Linked DNA regions of Homo sapiens: all the other regions are linked to region 2. Evidence: promoter capture Hi-C in human tissues and cell types (Jung and others, 2019). All regions are on one chromosome and are shown on one strand. The core of a region is centred on a gene start or on the middle of the fragment in contact, and the rest is flanking DNA. Distances in the headings are between cores, read along the strand shown. Region 1 overlaps HNRNPM (heterogeneous nuclear ribonucleoprotein M). Region 2 holds the start of NDUFA7 (NADH:ubiquinone oxidoreductase subunit A7). Region 3 overlaps HNRNPM (heterogeneous nuclear ribonucleoprotein M).

Region 1 (4,335 bases), core at 1,442-3,941, 150 kb after region 2:
CCTGTCTACTAAAAATACAAAAAATTAGCTGGGCGTAGTGGGGGGTGCCTGTAATCCATCTACTCGGGAGGCTGAGGCAGGAGAATCGCTGGAACCCAGGAGGCGGAGGTTGCAGTGAGCCGAGATCGCGCCATTGAACTCCAGCCTGGGCAGTAAGAGCAAAGCTCTGTCTCAAAAAAACATCCCTCTTAACTTCTTTTCACCTCTTCTCTTGGGGAGGAAGATGAGTAGATTCAGAGTGAAGCTTGGTAGGGTCTAAGGTCTCTCATGTGTTATGATGTCTTTTTTAGTGCTGATGGTGGTAATTGACAGGACAGAGAGTTGAAGAAGAGAGTCAGTACAGAGCTTCACAGACCTTCCCAGATGTTGTTTTACTGCGCAGCCCTCACACACACGCCTCCAACACCTGAAGGACTTGAAGGATGGGGGCGCTTGTGTGGTCTAGAACTGTTTCTCAAACTTCTGGAAGCCATTGACGGGGTTTGCAGAAGTTACAAAACCCCATTGATGAATTAGTAAGATTCAGCTATACCAAGCCCATGAAGCTCTAATTTCAGTCTGGCGGTTCTACATTATATCAGCTAATCATGTTTCCCTCCCTACCCTGCTTTTCTTTTTTACTTAGTGCAATTGAGAGCTGTGTTTTTAGTGCTACACTTCATGCCTTTTCTTCCTTTCCTATTTCTTTAGCTGGACTCTTCTAAGCTGGTAGTTGAGTTCATTTGACTTTCTTGTTAATAGATTTGAGAGATGCTTTCCAAACAACCTTTCAGTTTCTAAGTCTTGAGAATATCATTTACTGTGCAAGCATGGTTTGCGTTGTACTGGGTCAGTTAAACGTAACACCTTTTGTGCTTGTTTTAGGATCCTGATGGTGAACATGCCAGGAGAGCAATGCAAAAGGTGATGGCTACGACTGGTGGGATGGGTATGGGACCAGGTGGCCCAGGAATGATTACTATCCCACCCAGTATCCTAAATAATCCCAACATCCCAAATGAGATTATCCATGCATTACAGGCTGGAAGACTTGGAAGCACAGTATTTGTAGCAAATGTAAGTAAACAGAACCATCGTCTAAAGTAGAAAATCAGAACTTTATGAAATGACCTTGTCAATATGTTATAAAAGTAATTCTCACATTTGAGAAGAAAAATGTAAAGAAGGGTTTTGTTCTTGATTTCTTTAAAAATCAGCCTTATAGGCGGGCTTTGTCTGCATTCCTAAGTCACAGGCTTGACCGTGGTCTCGTTGGGGCTGTGATTCCTGAGTTTCGCAGGTGTTTCCGCAAGCAGTAACCGAGTCTGCATTCTCCGTTGGTTTATTTTATGCAGTTTTGGTGCAGAGTAAGACTGTACGAGCAGAAGTGCACTGACACCTTCCTCTTGTTGTGTCTGGGGTGAATGATAATACCTCCACCATCTGCAAGGGGAAATATTTTTAGAATAAAGTAGGTTGGGTGGGGTGGGGAGTGGTAAAGCTTATCAGGGAAACAATTTTTTAAAAATGTTCAGAAAATGAGTATTAATTTGAAGTATGAGGTGACTTAAGTTTCTGAGAAAAGAGACAATATATTTACTATAGGTACAGTTTATTTACAGTGAAGGCCAGGCTTTATAATCCTATTTTAAAATTTCCATTGCAGTTGATTAGTTTTTGTGACATTATTTCCTAATACTTTTTTCCAACCAAAGCATGTATCATTCATGTAGTAAAAATGTTGTGTTTCTTAAGATGTTTACATTGAGGTTTTTACCCCGTTCTCTCTCGATTAGCTGGATTATAAAGTTGGCTGGAAGAAACTGAAGGAAGTATTTAGTATGGCTGGTGTGGTGGTCCGAGCAGACATTCTTGAAGATAAAGATGGAAAAAGTCGTGGAATAGGCACTGTTACTTTTGAACAGTCCATTGAAGCTGTGCAAGCTATATGTATCCTTCTGCAGGAATTCAACTTATGAACAGTTTGACCTAAATTGCTGTGTTAGTAATGTAGGTTTGTGTGAGGAAGAGGTGACTGTGTGTATTCATGTTTTTTATGTGACTAGGGGGAGTGCATTACTGTGGAATTAAGAGGTTCTCTGGGCCGGACCGGTCACGGTGGCTCACGCCTGTAATCCCAGCACTTCGGGAGGCCAAGGCGGGCGGATCACTTGAGGTCAGTTCGAGACCAGCCTGGCCAACATGGTGAAACCCCGGCTCTACTAAAAAATGCAAAAATTAGCTGGGCGCAGTGGTGGGTGCCTGTAATCCCAGCTACTCGGGAGGCTGAGGCACAAGAATCGCTTGAACCCGGGAGGTGGAGGTTGCAGTGAGCCGAGATTGCGCCACTGCACACCACCAGCCTGGGTGATAGAGTGAGACTCAGTCTCAAAAAAAAAAAAAAAAAAAAAAAAGGTTCTCTGGGGGTGGAATTGATTCAATACAGTGTGGATAGAGGGGATGGTTACAACATGGGCATATGCCCATGAGTCTTTCTACTGTTTTCTTTTCAGAAGAGTCTAGGTTTGAAGGAGGAAGTCCAAAGAATGTGCTACTAGAGAGAAAGTGGGGTTGTTGTTTCATGTGTAATACATCCTTATAGGACCTCACTCTTTCCAGTGAGTAGACATCATTTTGGAAGAGGCCACTTCTCCTTGACCCTAGGCTTAGCCTAGAGTTTTTAATCCCTTGGAGAGTACCCCACAGGAGCACATTCATACAACTCAGACAAGACCGTCACTGCATGTCTTACCCAGAAAACATGGTCCTTCAGTTTAGATAGTGGTAGATGCCTGGCCCATTGGTCACATTCAGAGAACCTTGATGCCACTGCTTAAGAGGATGGTTTGGTGAAATTGTAAGGTTACGAATGAAGCTTCACACCTAAGGAATAAGCGGAAGTTGTCTTGTCCTCCCCGCCAGCTTTATTTATTGTTCCTTTTATGTTTATTGTTGAAAGTATAATGAAGAATTGAAATTGCTCATAAATTCATCACTTAGAGGGACTGGTAGCAGTTGGAGTATTTTTCTTTCTTTTTGTATTTCTCTTGTGCACATTTTTAGAATTGCAAGAAATAGCCTTAATTGTAATACCAGCTATGTTCAATGGCCAGCTGCTATTTGATAGACCAATGCACGTCAAGATGGTAAGTCAGTAGGATCTTTCTCTGTGATATACTCAAGTCTAGCAAAAACATGGAATTAATAAGAGTGTACATATAGCCACTATGAAATATTTGTGGATTAGTCTAAGTTAAATAGGGTGCAGTATGTTGAGCAAAATTGTGAGAGAAATAACATTTTGCTGGTCAGGCGTGGTGGTTCACGCCTGTAATCCCAGCACTTTGGGAGTCTGAGGCAGGCGGATCATGAGGTCAGCAGTTCGACACCAGCCTGACCAACGTGGTGGAACTCCTCCGTCTCTACTAAAAATACAAAAATTAGCCGGGCGTGGTGGCACGCGCCTGTAGTCCAGCTACTCGGGAGGCTGAGGCAGGAGAATCACTTGAACGTGGGAGGCAGAGGCTGCAGTGAGCCGAGATCGTGCCACTGCACTCCAGCCTGGGCAACAGAGTGAGACTCTGTCTCAAGAAAAAAAAAGAAGAAAAAAAAACATTTTGCTCATGGCAGCTCTTGACTGCATTAGATATTTTTCCTTTTGCACAGTTGACTGTTCATGGCGCATTCAGGAAGTCACCTGGGTATCCTGGTTGAGCAAGTGATCCGTTTCAAAGAATGGTTATATATGTGGGGTTCCAGTTTTTCAAAGTATTACAGTATAATGTTTGGTTAGCATCAAATCTGTTGTGAACATAATTAAGTCATTGATTCAGACAGCTTTTAAAGGTCTGTTGGAGCACTTCAATCTTAATAAACATTTGCTCTGCCGTAACTGTGCCAAAGATAATAATTACTACAGGCATGACTGGAACATGCTGAGGGCAGTCTAGTTGGGACTCAAATTCAGGAAAAAGATAAACTATAAAGCAATTTTTTCATTACTCTAAATAGAGTAGGTAAGTTTTTTGAATAGATGATAGATTCACGTGACTCAAAAGTCAAAAGGCATGAAAAGGTAGTGTGAAGATAGTGTGAGTCCTACTTGGACTTCTTGCCCAGGTCCCCATCATCCCCCACAATAATATCCATGTGTCTTTTCCCTTGACATAAAATAGGAAGCATGCTCCGCATGCCTTTCTACCCTTGCGTATTACTCCATGGCGTGGATAATGTGTTTAGCTGGTCCTCTCTTGATGGGGGGCCATTTCAGTCTTTTGCTGTTGCAAACACTGCTGCACTGGATACTGAGATTTGTTTGTTTTCTTTCTCTTTCAGGATGAGAGGGCCTTACCAAAA
Region 2 (4,586 bases), core at 336-2,835:
GGCTCTGTCCAGCCTGACACTCTTAGCCCTTCCTGTTCCCTCTGCTCAGAATGTTTTTTCTTTTTTATTTTTTTGAGACAGAGTGTTGTTCTGTCACCCAGGCTGGAGTGCAGTGGTGCGATCTCAGCTCACTGCAATATCCACCTCCTGTGTTCAAGCGATTCTCCTGCCTCAACCTCCCGAGTAGCTGGGACTACCCGCGCGCGCCACCACGCCCGGCTAATTTTTGTATTTCTAGTAGAGAGGGGGTTTTACTGTGTTTCACTGTGTTGGCCAGGCTGGTCTCAAACTCCTGACCTCGTGATCCGCCTGCCTCAGCCTCCCCAAGTGCTGGGATCACAAGCGTGAGCCACCGCGCCCGGTCAGAATGTTTTTTCAATAATTATTCTTTGAATGGGTCCTTCCCATCATTCAGGGGACTCAACTGTCAATTTCCAAAGAAAGATCTTTCCCAATCATCTGACTTTACGTAGCCACCCTCCAGCTTCCACTTATTTTGTTTTGTCTTCAAAGCATTCCAGAACAATACTACCTGCTGTGTTTGTTTCCCTACTATGCTTCTCCCTAGAATGTGGCGTCCATGAAAGAATGTGGATAAGAACTTTCCTGGTTCACAAAGTTAAACCCAAGGCTGAGGTCATACATGACGGGGGCTTGTAAATATCAACTAATATTTTAATATAAATGAGTCTGAAATCAGGACACTTCTGGGTTCAAGTCCCCGCTGCCACTTTTTAGCTTCTGAGTGACTTGAGGCAAATGATTTCGCCTCTCTGGACCTCTTTTTTCATCTGTAGCTTGGGGATAACACTGACTAACATGGCCACGCTGAGCACTGCAAATCTAGCCTGATTGCCAGTCAGAATGCACGCCCGGCCTCGCTGTTTCAGGAGGGCTGTCCTCCGGAGTTCAGCAAGGTTAAAGGCAAACCTCTGCCTCCACAGCCTGGCAGGGGACTGGTGGCAGGATGTCAGCCCTCCGTTTCAGGGGTCTAAAGGAACACAGATTTCGTTTTTGGTGGAGAAAGGACAGAGCCAGAGGCTGGGCAGCGAGCGGGGCCTGCTCACCGCTTGGAGATCTCCTGGTAGCGTAGCTGCAGCTTCCCCTGCAGGTCATGCTGTGGGAAGAGGAGAGGAGAGGTCGGCCTGCAAGGCACCCCAGGAGAGAGGAAAGGAGAGGGCAAGGGACCAGGGATGGTCCGGGGATGCGCATTTTAAGGGAAGGCAGGGGATGAACACTCGGGGAAACGGATGTGGGTCCTGCAGGTGAAGAGCAAAGCCAGAGTCCGGGCCCACAGATCCAAGGCTAAGAAGGTCGGGGACTGGGGAAATCCCAGGCCTGAGTGGTTCCCAGGCCAGGAGAGGGTCCCGGGCTGAAGGGGTGACTAGCTGGGGGTTCCCAGGGAGATTCGGGGAGAGCGAAGGGTCCCGGCTTAGGAGGGAGGTGAGGAGCAGGAGCGGGTCCCGGACACACGGAGCCCGAAGCCCCCCATGGTGCAGCCCTGTCCGCCCCGCGCACCCCGGACGCCCAGTTCCGCAGCCGCTGGATGAGACGGGTGGCGGACGCCATCTTCCGTCCGCGATACTGAAGGGCGCAGCCGGTGACGTCTCCACCGCTGGGGCTGCTGGGAAAGACGCGGCGTGGTATCGCGAGACGGGAGTGGGCGGTGCTAGAACGTCCTATAAAGGCTCTCCCCGAAGCACGTGACTCCTCTCCGCCAGACCGCCGCCGCGCCGCCATCATGGACACCAGCCGTGTGCAGCCTATCAAGCTGGCCAGGGTGAGGTGGGGGCCCGAATTTGGGGGCAGGGGGAGGGATTAGAGGAGCCAAACGGGCCGGGTCTGAACCCAGCTTCTTTCCTCCAGGTCACCAAGGTCCTGGGCAGGACCGGTTCTCAGGGACAGTGCACGCAGGTAATCGGGTGGGGGCATTTGGCCGACTGCCGGCGACCTAAACCCTGATGTGACCTCTACCCTGCCCTAACCCCTGCCAGCCGGAATCCGGGAGCCGATTCTCATTTCATCACGGGGTTCTGATGGTTCCCTTTAACGATCTGTATTCTGGCCCCGACACGTTCTCTGAATTCATATCTGCTTCCCACTCCGCGGTGCCTTTCCGCGGCCCGCCCTTACTTCTTCCTCCACTCCGGTGGGGACCCGTAGGTGCGCGTGGAATTCATGGACGACACGAGCCGATCCATCATCCGCAATGTAAAAGGCCCCGTGCGCGAGGGCGACGTGCTCACCCTTTTGGAGTCAGAGCGAGAAGCCCGGAGGTTGCGCTGAGCTTGGCTGCTCGCTGGTGGGTGCAAAGAGGACACCCCTTTGATAGACCTTTGGTTGGTGGTAGGGAGGCTTCGTTAAGCCCAGGGTGAGAGGGTTTGGGAGGCAGAGTCTACATACAGAGACTGACAAGAGGGAGGCGGGAGTTTGCCAATTGCTGCGGGGCCTGTCAACATCTCATGTTTGGGTCTGTTTACAGGGTCTTGGATGTCGGGTTCGACCACTTGGCCGATGGGAATGGTCTGTCACAGTCTGCTCCTTTTTTTTGTCCGCCACACGTAACTGAGATGCTCCTTTAAATAAAGCGTTTGTGTTTCAAGTTAACTCAGGTTCTTGTCTGGGTTATACGACTAGGGTTTCTCCAGGTTTCTTGAGTGGCTCCCAGGCGGTCACCGATCCTCCGCACTCTGGAAATCCTGGCCGTGCGGTCTTGCCAAACGAAGCTTTTCCTTTTTGAGGCGGGGGGTCGTGTTTGTCGATTGCACCCTCTACCCCAAACAAAACACAAGCGTAGTAGGAATGTTTTATTAGCAAAGAAGTTTCAGAGAGTGGGTGGATCAGGGCTCTATCACTTGGTCCCCACCTCACCTTGGTGGGGCCAGAGTGAGCCCCTTCCTGCCACAGTCACCCCAACTGAAATTGCCTTTCTCTTCGGCCAGTGTTAGCCTCTGAGCAGGGGACCCTGGACCCTTCTGTGCGCCAAAGGCTGAGGTGACTGACGAGGAGATCTCCCCACAGCTAGGTGTAGTGAGCCAGACGAGGCAGCTTACTGAACCTGGGGGTTCTCTCCATTGTCACCGCATTCTCCTTCACCAGGTGTGGCTGTCTGGGAGCCAGGGGGTGACTCGCTCTGGAGAGAGGGGAAAAGAGGGGGGCCTGCTGCAATCTCCTTGAGGCAGGAAACGTGGGATTCAGCCCCAGCCTCACTTAGTGGAGGTTCTTTTACCATGGACCCAGGCTGCCTGGTTTGTATCCAACCTCTGCCCCTTCTGACCTGGAAGAGGCGCTTGACCTTCCTCCCACATCCCTTCCAGTGGGGTGAGTACAGGTGTTCCTCAGTTTACAATGGGTTACATTCCGGTGAGTACATCATAGGTTGAAAGTATTGCAAGTTGAAATGTGTTTAATACACCTAATCTCCCAAACATCACAGCTTAGCATGGTCCATCTTAAGCTTGTTCAGAACGCCTTAGCCTGTAGTTGGGGAAACTCGTCTAACACGAAGCCTGTTTTAATAAAGTATTGAATGTCTTATGTAATTTATTGAATACTCTGCTGAAGTGTGGTTTTTACTAAGCACACATTGCTTTTATGCTATCATGAAGTCAAAAAATTGTAAGTTGTGCCAGGCGCGATGGCTCACAGCTGTTGTAATCCCAGCTACTTGGGAGGCTGAGGCAGGAGAATTTCTTGAACCTGGGAGGTGGAGGTTGCAGTGAACTGAGATTGTGCCGCTGCACTCCAGCCTGGGTGACAGAACGAGACTCTTGTCTTCAAATGAAAAAAAAAAATTAGCTGGGCATGGTAGCACGTGCCTGTAGTCCCAACTACTTGAGAGGCTGAGGCAGAAGAATCGCTTGAACCCCAGAGGTGGAGGTTGCAGTGAGCTGCAGTCGCCCCACTGCACTCTAGCCTCGGTGACAGAGGAAGACTCCATCTCAAAAATAAATAAAAAATGGTAAGTGGAGCCATGGTAAATTGGGGTCAACCTGTACAGGATGAGTGGGCTGATTAGATAACTTGGATTATGAAAGTGCTAAAACATCCTGGCACTTGGCCATCAGAGTATAGTGGTGTTGGGGGTTAATGTGTTCTGCAAACTCACCCAGTCTCCAGTTCTGAAGCTCTGGACCCCCTTCCCCACCCTGCCTGATGCCAAAGGGCTCCTTTTTCCTTTGATAAGAGCCTCCCTGGCAGTAGGTAACAGGAGCCCAGGGGCATGCATGAAAGGTCTTAGCTAGGTCTCTGTGACCTTAGGTTACTTCCCCCCTTGAGGACTCAGTCTCATGACCTGGGGTAGTGTCAACCTCACTGGGGTTTTGCTGCTTTCACATCAAATCCCAGCCCCTGCCAGGCGCTCTGGTTTCACACCTGTAATCCCAGCACTTGAGGATGCTGAGGCAGAAGGATCCCTTGAGCTCAGGAGTTTGTGGCTGCAGTGAGCTCTGATCACACCACTACACCCCAACCCGGGTTACAGAGTGAGACCCTGTCTCCCAAAAAAGAAAAGCAGCCACATAGGAGAATCCAGACACTGGTTCTGCACCCCTGGTGCCACCTTTGGGGAGCAGAAAGGGAGGCTC
Region 3 (4,812 bases), core at 1,910-4,409, 160 kb after region 2:
TGGTGGTGCATGCTGTAATCCCAGCTATTCAGGTGGCTGAGGCAGAATTGCTTGAACCTGGGAGGTAGAGGTTGCAGTGAGCCGAGATGACACCACTGCACTCTAGCCTGGGCGACAGAGTGAGACTCTGTCTCAAAATTAAAAAAAAAAAAAAGGCATCTTTACTTCTGTAGGAACTTTTTCTTGCTAAGAGCCTTCAGCTTCTTGCCACTCTGCAGCACCTCTCGCCTAATTCCGCTTTTTGGAGTGGCACATGAGTGGCACAGAGAGGTGGATGTGGGCTTCTTGCCTTTGAGGTCACTTCATGTGGCCACAGGAAACTGTTCCTGTCCTGACCGGCAGGGCGCCACCTCTCCCGCTGCGGTTACACCTTCTTTCTGATTGGGACTGTGCGATCTCTGTCCCGGAATTCCCTCCTGCCGCTGTGATCAGACCTACATGAGTAAGGTGATCTCGTCAGGTTCTCAGAGTGGTTGGGTTGGTTTTTCAAGATTCAATTCTTGACCTCTTTCCCGTGTCCTTTGCCATGAGAGGTGAACCATTGTGGTGCTCCTTTCCATAGTGCTTTCCTACTCGGTGCCCCTTCCTGTGCCTAGGCAGTAGATCTTTGCACTCCTTTGTGCAAACAGCTGTACTTGCTGCTTCAAAAATTTGGATAGGCCTGTGGTCTTTGGCCTTCAAGGATGAGGTGTAGCTGAGGCGATACTAAGGGTGGCTTGGGACATCGCCAGAGGTCTGTGCATCCAAGTGGCCTAGTGAGGACGCTGGTGGAGACGTTGGTTGCCAGATGCTGCTCAGGGCATTGGCTCTGCTAGGGGGCTCAGCAGGCTTGGCACAGGCAGCAGGTGTGCGCAGATAGAGCGGCTGGCGGCGGTGGGTGCAGGTCTCTGTGAGGCAGGGGAGGAGCATGGGCAGAACAGGCTCCAGTTGTGGTCTGTGGGGAGGCCTGTGAATGCCGATGGGAGAATTCCGCCATTCTCTGCAAATCAGTGGCATGTTGGTTGAAAGCTTTTGCAGCTGTCTTGCAGGTGTGTTAGTTGGAAGCTTGATCTAGTTCAGGGGTGTGCACGGGAGAATATAGTCATGGGTTCTCAGTTGGTTTCTGTTTGGGTCAGTAAAGCCCCTTATCCCTCTTTTCCACTTATTACTAGAGACAGAAACTTAAAAACCATGGTTTCAGGCTGCCAAAAAGCCTAAAACAGAACAAAGCAAAGTAAGACGTGTTGGACAAGCTTGGTCTAGGTGCTGGAAAGCCAGCCTCGGCTCAGGCATGCCGGGCAGGATCGCAGGCGTCCCGGGAGAATGAGCTGTACCTGCTGGTAGACTGAAGTCTGTGTCTCTTGGTGAACTTTCCCACCTTGTCCCACAGCAGTTAGTTGGGATATAAGAAGCAGCTGTGTGGGGTGCAGGTGCTTTTGTTGTTGTTGTTGTTTGGTGTCTTTTTTTTTTTTTTTTTTTTTCTTAGAGACAGAGTCTCACTCTTGCCCAGGCTGGGGTGCAGTGGCACGATCTCGGCTCACTGCAACCTCTGCCTCCAGGGTTCAAGCGATTCTCCCGCCTCAGCCTCCTGAGTAACTGGGATTACAGGCACCTGCCATCATACCCGGCTAATTTTTAGTAGAGACGGGGTTTCACCATGTTGGCCAGGCTGATCCTGACCTCAGGTGATCCACCCGCCTTGGCCTCCCAAAGTGCTGGGATTACAGGCATGAGCTACTGCGCGGCCGGGGGACAGGTTTTAATGGCTTTGTGGCCGTGGTCATAAAGCGAAATGTGCCTCGTGGCTAATGTCCAAGTTGCTGAGCATATACTTTGAGACCAGAGCGGGTGGGTACAAGTGTCTTCTACATAGCAAAAGATGGACCAGAAGCTTGGAAAGGTAATGCTATGATAGCATCAGACAAACCTTAAAGAGGTGTGGGTGCACCGTGGGCAAGTGAGCAGCAGCACTGTGTTTGGGATACTTGGTGGGGGGTGCAATTTAGGTATTTTCCTGAAACCTTATCTGTTGCCTAGTCACAGCACACCCAGCTCATTTCAGGCAAGGCTGGCATGCTCAAGGATTTCCGCGCAGAGCTCATTTGTTAGCGTTGAGGTTGTCCGTGGAGCTGCAGCTTTAATTTGCTCTATGATAATGAGAGGTGCCTCTGGGTGGATAAATGTGGGCTCCAAGTGGGTGATGCTGGGCGGTCTTCTGAACAAGAAGTTGGCTGGGGTGGGGGTGGGGGCTTACTTTCCAGCTCAGGGGAGGCAAGGAAGCCTCAGTCCTGAGAGCCTGGACCAGCTTTAGAAAACTGCCGCTGAGCGAGACCCGATGGCCCTCTTCTTGCTCTGGCTCTCAGTTCATGAATGCATATGACTCCTATCTCTGCTGGGCGCATTCGCAGGTGACCCCGCACGCTGGGCCTCAGACTCTGGAGCTACGTGGGGTCTTGGCATCGTGACCCAGCATCAAGGACTCTCCTAGTTCTCTGTAAAATGATCTTGTCTGTGCGTGTGTTTCTCAAACCCCTTTCCCTTTATCTTGTCATTTTTATTAGTAGTATTTCTACTCTGGAATCTGTAATGAGCACATTTCTATTGCCATAGAGGAATTTGGCTAATTTTTTTTTCTTCCTGATTTCCTTAGAAATCCTAAGTAATGCACTGAAGAGAGGAGAGATCATTGCAAAGCAGGGAGGAGGTAGGAACCGCTTAGTTTGATGTTTTGTTTTTTTAGAACAGGCTGTTATCGCTGGGGACTGTAGAGCTTAGTGGTGAGAAGTGCGGGTTCTGACACAGACTGCCCGGGGTGGGAGCAGCTCTGCCTTTTTCTAGCTGTGTGACGTTTGGCAAGTCACTGAACCTCTCTGTTTCTCATAGCACTCATTTGTAAAATGGGGGTGTAATAGTACCTGCCTCAGGGATGCTGTGGAGAGTGAATGCATGTGAAAGAGTGCTTCCGCACGTGCTGTGCACAGGCCGACCATCTTCATTGTTAGAGTACCTCTCTTTTGGGGGTTTTGTTTTCCACATTATAAATTCCTAAAAGTAAATATATTTTCCTTAGACTTGATGATAAGACTGAAAGCACACCACCCAACAAGTAATAAATGCTTGTAAAATAGATAAATGTACTCATTAGGAAAATATGAAGAAAGTATGGTCTGAAACCCCATCGCCCAGTGATGACTGCCGGAAACATTTTGTTCTGAATCTTTCATTCATACACAGCTTTATGGATACTGAGAACAAAATGTACTTTTTGAGCATTTTTGGAGACAGTCTCGCTCTGTCTCCCAGGCTGGAGTGCCGTGGTGCAGTCTCTGCTCACTGCGGCCTCAACTTCCCAGGCCTAAGCGATTCTCCCACTTTAGCCTCCCAAGTAGCTGGGACTACAGGCGTGTGCCACCTGGTTTGGCTAATTTTTTGATTTTTTTTGTAGAGATGGCATTTTGACATGTTACCCAGGCTTATCTCAAACTCCTGGCCTCAAGTGACCTGCATACCTCCAGAGTGCTGGGATGACAGATGTGAGCCACCACACCTGGCCCAAATGTACTTTTTCAGCCTGATTTTCCCTCTGAGTATCTTGGCATCTCACCTCCTGACTTCTGTGTTGGGCTGGCTCTGGAGCTCCACGCTGGTACCATTTCCTCCCATTTCTTTTTTTTTTTTTTTTTTTGAGAGACGGAGTCTCACTCTGTCGCCCAGGCTAGAGTGCAGTGGCACGATCTCGGCTCACTGTGACCTCCGTCTCCTGGGTTCAAGCGATTCTCCTGCCTCAGCCTCCCAAGTAGCTGGGACTACGGGCGCACGCCACCATACCCAGCTAATTTTTGCAATTTTAGTAGAGATGGGGTTTCACCATGTTGGCCAGGCTGGTCGCGAACTCCTGACCTTGTTCCGCCCGCCTTGGCCTCCCAAAGTACTGGGATTACAGGCATGAGCCACCACACCCAGCTGCCCCACCTCATTTCTGATGCCTTTGGGCAAAGTGCCCATTCTCGCTAGGTTCCTTATACTGTGGGGAAGTTCTGAGACGTCTCCCCTCTGAAAGTCACACATTCTTAGAGTCGGGCCTGCTTTGGCCGCTCACTGTGTGCTGTGCAGCTAGAGAAGCAGGCGCGGTGTGGCCAGTTACAGAGCCAGTTAGAGAAACTGCCCAGTTTCCTCTTGAATTGGTATCTTTGACTAGGCTGCTTGGGTCGGTCACAGGCTGGCTCTGGGCTGATGGCCACTCTCAGAGGCAAGCGACAGGGTTTCGGGGAGGAGCCCCAAACTCGGCATGTGGAAAGGGGTGGCCTTGCTGACGGAGCCAGACCCTGCTTTCCAGAGTTGCAAGCACCACGGGTGGGGGCGTCCCTTCGTTCTGCTGACTGACCCCCAGCCGCTACCAGAGCCCACTCTGCAGTGCCATCAACATCTTCTTTCCAAAGCCAGCAAGTCATTTGGTTTCCCTGACAATAGGGTCCCCAAAAGTGGCCAGCTGTGTGCATTTGTACACAGAGGATCTCTCGGTGTGTGTTTTTTTGACCTCTGCTTGATGGTGTGGCCGAAAATCCTTTCTCTGTGCCCTGGGAGCGCTGAGGAAATGCAGCCAGAGTGGCCCCCAGCAGAGCATCCTAGAGGGACAGGCTGGGAGGGGAAGGTGGGAGTGACTCCGACTTGTCTCCACATAACTCCTGTTCATTACCCTGGGTGGCCCCCCGAGTGGGGGGTGTCCATGCCTCCCCCTGGAGCATTTCTCAGTGTCTGCTGATGGAGAAACCTCAGATGTCTCAGGAATTGACGTCCATGGTTCACAAAGCTTGTCACAGACACTAGCACCTC

Evidence for each region. Contacts are between HindIII fragments. The study calls those that stand out against the background at their distance.
Region 1: a contact is called between a fragment that was not itself captured here and the fragment with the promoter of NDUFA7 in region 2, in 3 of the 25 tissues and cell types used here (dorsolateral prefrontal cortex, mesenchymal stem cells and pancreas).
Region 3: a fragment that was not itself captured here is called in contact with the fragment with the promoter of NDUFA7 in region 2 in 7 of the 25 tissues and cell types used here (aorta, bladder, dorsolateral prefrontal cortex and 4 more).

The regions. Positions count from the first base shown.
Region 1 is chr19:8,464,460-8,468,794 of GRCh38, forward strand. It overlaps HNRNPM (heterogeneous nuclear ribonucleoprotein M), which reads left to right. Exons shown (of 16, transcript NM_005968.5): 6 at 865-1,056; 7 at 1,776-1,929; 8 at 3,076-3,125; 9 at 4,315-4,335. Among named protein-coding and RNA genes, the nearest start is that of HNRNPM, 22 kb to the left of the region's middle. The HindIII fragment of the contact is 3,658 bases long and covers 863-4,335 here.
Region 2 is chr19:8,319,790-8,324,375 of GRCh38, forward strand. It overlaps NDUFA7 (NADH:ubiquinone oxidoreductase subunit A7), which reads right to left and starts at 1,586. Exons shown (of 4, transcript NM_005001.5): 1 at 1,519-1,586; 2 at 1,068-1,117. The coding sequence starts at 1,569. RPS28 (ribosomal protein S28) reads left to right here and starts at 1,707. Exons shown (of 4, transcript NM_001031.5): 1 at 1,707-1,780; 2 at 1,867-1,914; 3 at 2,164-2,302; 4 at 2,483-3,551. The coding sequence starts at 1,742. The coding sequence ends at 2,286. KANK3 (KN motif and ankyrin repeat domains 3) reads right to left here. Exons shown (of 11, transcript NM_198471.3): 11 at 2,795-3,133. The coding sequence ends at 3,050. RefSeq lists enhancers at 1-673, 674-1,641, 1,496-1,735, 1,642-2,609, 2,610-3,575. The HindIII fragment of the contact is 5,252 bases long and covers 1-3,091 here.
Region 3 is chr19:8,480,529-8,485,340 of GRCh38, forward strand. HNRNPM (heterogeneous nuclear ribonucleoprotein M) reads left to right here. Exons shown (of 16, transcript NM_005968.5): 13 at 2,630-2,683. Among named protein-coding and RNA genes, the nearest start is that of PRAM1, 20 kb to the right of the region's middle. The HindIII fragment of the contact is 4,267 bases long and covers 1,027-4,812 here.